Linked DNA regions of Homo sapiens: region 2 is linked to region 1. Evidence: promoter capture Hi-C in 16 types of primary human blood cells and fetal thymus (Javierre and others, 2016). All regions are on one chromosome and are shown on one strand. The core of a region is centred on a gene start or on the middle of the fragment in contact, and the rest is flanking DNA. Distances in the headings are between cores, read along the strand shown.

What was found. The method cuts DNA at HindIII sites, captures the fragments that hold promoters and counts their contacts. A CHiCAGO score of 5 or more calls a contact.
Region 2: a fragment that was not itself captured here is called in contact with the fragment with the promoter of CPLX3 in region 1 in 1 of 17 cell types (megakaryocytes); the score reaches 5.6 in megakaryocytes.

What each region holds. Positions count from the first base shown.
Region 1 is chr15:74,825,377-74,827,915 of GRCh38, reverse strand. It overlaps CPLX3 (complexin 3), which reads right to left and starts at 1,289. Exons shown (of 3, transcript NM_001030005.3): 1 at 1,049-1,289. The coding sequence starts at 1,212. It overlaps LMAN1L (lectin, mannose binding 1 like), which reads right to left. Exons shown (of 14, transcript NM_021819.3): 14 at 2,162-2,440. The coding sequence ends at 2,311. RefSeq lists a silencer at 1,100-1,307. The HindIII fragment of the contact is 16,039 bases long and covers 1-2,539 here.
Region 2 is chr15:74,931,981-74,934,519 of GRCh38, reverse strand. The region is part of intron 1 of COX5A (cytochrome c oxidase subunit 5A); the gene reads left to right. Among named protein-coding and RNA genes, the nearest start is that of COX5A, 4.8 kb to the left of the region's middle. The HindIII fragment of the contact is 3,088 bases long and covers 1-2,539 here.

The DNA.
Region 1 (2,539 bases), core at 40-2,539:
TAGCAAAAGCGCTCCAACCCGGACATCCAGGTTTCTGCTGCCTCTGCCCATCACAGTGCCCTTTGTCGTCTCTGCCACTGGATGGAACTAGGGAACCAGGGTGGCAGTCTGTCTGGCTCTCTCTGCAGATCCTAATTATTTGTCCCTCATGGCCTCCAACTTGGTCTGCTGTTCCCTCACTGACAAGCTATGTCATGTGGGGAAAAGTATTCAGGCCAAACTTGGGTTCACATCCCAGCTCCACTACCATTTTAGGTATATCCTTAGGTAAGTCACTTACCTTCCTCTTCTGTAAAATGGGGATAAAATTTTGCAACTCACAAAACTGTTATCAGGATTGAGCGAAATAATAGCTATCATTTATGAGACTTTATCATGTGCCAGGTGCTGTGCTAAACAGTTTACATGCATTGGCATTTAATCTTCATAAATATACAAGGCATGTATTATGATTACCATCCCCACTTTCCAGAAAAGGAAACAGAGGCACAGAAAGGTTAAGTAACTTGCCTAAAGTTATCCAGCTAATAGGCAAAGCCAGGCTCTGAACCCAAGTAGCCTAGCAGCAGAGTCCAGCCCCAAACTCTGTCCCAGCACTGCGGGCACACAAGTGCTCAATGTTTGTGAGTGCCCCCATCTCAGGGTCTGTCTCCGCGACTCTGAGCGGCTGCACCACTTTTTTCAGAGCCTCAAGTTCAGAGGAGCCCCAGTTGGAAGACATAGGCGGCTGGGACCAGATCGGATTAAGGGATTATCGTTTCGTCAGAAACGCACGTGCACCCCCTTCCTCGTCCCAGGCTCCGGTCGGTCCCTCGTCCGGTCGCCCCTCCCCCCACTCCCCCTTGGCCGGAGCATGATGCTGGAGCGGGGTTTTGGGTGTCAGATAGGATGGGTCTGGGGGCAGTGTAGAGGACACCTCCCGGTCTCTTACCGTGTCTAGGAAAGTAGGGGAGAAGGGATTGGGACCTGAGGCTGGCCCGGGGATGGACTGAGCAGCTGTGGGGGTGGGGAGGGGAGGTCGTTGGAGCCAGGAAGGGATCCCACTCACTTCTCTTCCACGAGTTGCTTCTGATACTCCTCGTACTCCTCCCGGCTCATGCCCTGAGCTTCGGCTGCCGACTTGTCCCCATCTCCCTTATCCTCGCCGCCTCCCAGGCTCCCAGTGAGGTTCTTCAGCTGGCCGCCCACCATGGTCTTCACCATGAACGCCATGGTCTTCGCCGGCCGGGGCACCGGGCGCCTGCTACCACGCGCCAGGCACCGGGCACGTCCGCGCCTACTTCAGCACTAGGTTTCGCGGACAGCTCCCGCCGCGGGCCCGCGCCCCACGCTTGGCACCGCCCGCCGCCCGCCCCCGCCCGGGCCCGCCCCCACCTCCCCAAACCCCTCCTCACTGGGGGCGGGGGGCAGCACGGGGCTGAGAAGGCTGGACCACGTGCCCGCTCCCCACTCCCGCCTCCCCCACGTGCCTCCTTCAACGCCGAGCTCCGCTGGGCACTGCTGACAGAGGATTAGGGCCTGCGGTGGTGGGGTCGCTCTCCCGGGAGAGGGGTTGAGCTCATACACTCCCGGAACCCTGTTCCATAGCCTCTTCCAACTTTCTCCTCTCCTGGGCCACTAATAACTAGGATTTCAGCTGGGAGATCCAGGTAGCAGCAAGGGGTAAAAACCCAGCCTTGGGTGCCCCCCATTCTCCCCACCCACCCAAGTCACTGAACCCAGCAGCTGCCCAGAGAGCTTGACGCTGGAAAAGGGAGGGAGACCTGAGGGCGCGAGCGGGAATCCCAGTTATGGTTCCACGAGTTGGCCTCTCAGGGTTGCTCTGTCACGCGCCTCCCCTGCTGCCCCTGGAGCAGCTAGGAGTGGGGAGGGAGAGAGCTGCTCAGTGATGCTGGCTGAGCTGGGCCAGGAGGGACACTGGGAGACACTGCTCTCTGTTATGGGTGAGTTTGAGGACAGAATTATATACAGTCATGGCTCTCTTTCCCTCCATAGTCGAGGGTTCAAAGCCCGTGGGGTATCCGGTCTTTTGGAGGTTAAGCCAGGCCTTGGCCTCCTTGCCTGCTTGGAGCGCACTCCCAGCCAGGTACTCAGAAGGGGTGGAAGCCTTCACAGAGATTAGGGTGAGGCTGGAAAGAAGACCAGCATATCACAGCATGGGGAGAGGGAAATCACCTTTAACGAGGTGGGAGCATGCCGAAAGCTCAGGTGTGCGTGGGAGCTGGGCACCCAGACGGAGAGGATACTGACCAAGCCCCCACCCAAGACACTGCCTGCTTCCCAGTGATGCAAAGCAGGCTCTGAGGTGGGTCAGGCAGGCATGCTGGCAGGGAGAGGCTGCCTCCTCAGAATCCCCAGGGCCCTGGGGGTGTGTGGTGCAGGACCCAGAGGAAGGCTGCCTGTGGACAGACACTCCTGAAGGCTCTTGTTCAGCTCCTGCCTGCTGCCAGAGAGAAGGTTACAGGTTACTTGCGTCTCTCCTTTATGGGCTTTTGAAAAACCAGGACTCTCATGCTTGCCTTGCTACACTCACTGCACC
Region 2 (2,539 bases), core at 17-2,516, 110 kb before region 1:
CTCTACTAAAAATACAAAAAAATTAGCCGGGCGTGGTGGCGAGTGCCTGTAGTCCCAGCTGCTGGGAAGGCTGAGATAGGAGAATGGCGTGAACCTGGGAGGCGGAGCTTGCAGTGAGCTGAGATTGCGCCACTGCACTCCCGCCTGGGCGACAGAGTGAGACTCCATCTCAAAAAAAAAAAAAAAATTTAAATCACGTGGGGAGAGTCTGTTTTAGCCCTTCAGAAAGGGATGTATGGGTTTTTAAATTTTTATTTATTTTAATTTGTTTGATATAGAGTGTTGCTCTATCACCTAGGCTAGAGTGCAGTGGCGCAGTCATAGCTCACTGCAGCCTTGTTGCCCTGGGCTCAAGGGATCCTCCCGCCTCAGCCTCCTGAGTAGCTGGGACCACCAAACCCCGCTAATTTTTTAAGTTTTTTGTGGAGAATGGAGGTCTGTCTTTGTTGCCCAAGCTGGTCTCTCAGTCCTGGCATCAAGCGATCCTGCCTTGGCCTCTCAAAGTTCTAGTTCTGTTTTATAAAAGACTTTTTGGAATACAACCAGTTTGTAATTTGGCTTCCAGAAGACATATGATCAAATCCTTGAAGGTGGTGATCTCCTTGACTTGGATTTGCTGTTGGTGGTCATCTTATTCACAGTTAGGAAACAAAGCCTAGCACTCATGTAGTCAAATCCATGCCCAGCAGTGAACAAAACGAATTGCTTATCATGAAGCACTGTTGTGGATGGGACAGGTAATTACCTCTGGGGAAGGAGTACATAGACCTTTCATTGGGTAAATACTTAGGAGTGGAATTACTGTGTTATATGGTAGGTTTGTGTTTAACTTGATAAGAAACTGCTTAAACCGTCTTCCAAAGTGATTGTATCATTTTATACTTGCACTTTCAGTATTCAGTTAAGGCTAGCTTTAGTTTTTGAAGAGGTGGCTTATAATTTTTTCTTTTTTGAGACAGGGTCTCACTCTGTCTCCGAGGCTAGTGCCACTGCATCTGGCCCTAAGTTCTTGATAATAGTGCATTAGATGGTTGTTCTAATCTATGTTTTTACATAGATAGATAGATAGATAGATAGATAGATAGATAGATAGATAGATATTTTTTTTTTTGAGACGGAGTCTTGCTCTGTCGCCCAGGCTGGAATGCAGTGGCACGATCTTGGCTCACTGCAACCTCCCTGGGTTCAAGCTATTCTCCTCCTTCAGCATTCCAAGTAGCTGGGACTACAGGGGTGTGCCACCACGCCTGGCTAATTTTTTGTATTTTAGTAGAGACAGGGTTTCACCATGTTGGCCAGGCTGGTCTTGAACTCCTGGCCTCAAGTGATCTGCCTGCCTCAGCCTCCCAAAGTGCTGGGATTACAGGTGTGAGCCACCGCACCTGGCCTTGTTTTCTGATATATTAAATTTGAATATTAGTCTTGTAAGACTTATTAAATATCCACGTAGTTTTGATTAAATGTTCATACTTACCAGACATATTTAGGTGTAGAGATCCATTTTTTTCTTGTTGTAGAAATTAAGGCTGGGCACCGTGGCTCATGCCTGTTATCCCAGCACTTTGGGAGGCCGAGGCAGGCAGATCATGAGGTCAAGAGTTCGAGACCAGCCTGACTAACATGGTGAAACTTTGTGTCTACTAAAGATACAAAAAATTAGCCTGACATGGTGGCGCATGCCTGTAATCCCAGCTACTTGGGAGGCTAAGGCAGGAGAATCACTTGAACCCGGGAGGTGGAGGTTGCAGTGAGCCGAAATCGTGCCATTGCACTCCAGCCTGGGCGACAGGGTGAGACTCTGTCTCAAAAAAAAAAAAAAAGAAATTAAAACGTGTTCACTTCTAGTCCATTTATGTACATGTTCCACTTCATTCTGGGCTTGGATTATGTAGGTAATTTAGGTCTCTGGGAAGATCTTTTCTGCTTCGTTTTTTTGCTACTCTTCCTCCTGCCAGTTACTGCATTAAAGATATATAGGATATTACTAATGTTTAAATTTCAGTGTTCTTAGAACAACAATGTTGAGAGGTTTCTGGGTGAAGTTTTTAAAAATATATATATATGTATGTTAAGGCTGGGCATGGTGGCTCACACCTGTAATTCTAGTATTTTGGGAGTGGTAGGATTGCTTGAGGCTAGGAGTTTAAGACCACCCTGGGCAACATATCAAGACCCCCATCTCTAAAAGTAAATAAATAAAAATATGTTAAGCCTTAAACAACTGGAAGTTACACCACACTTATCTAATACAGGTAGTAGGAAATGTGATTTGAGATAGGTTTCATTTCTTTAAGTTATGATTTCTATAAATAGACAACTAAGACGTTTTTAGATAAGGGTTAGTTTATAGCTACCATTTGTTTAATACTTACCAGTGCATAGTGTTAACCTACCTGTTTTCACATTTAATCTTCATAATCTGCTAAGGGGGGTAGCGTCCCCATTTTACAGATAAGGAAAATAAACTTAAGTTAATTTTCCAGGGTCAAACAGAGAGAGCGAAGAGCCTAGAGGTATCTGAGTGCTAGGTTGTGCTGCA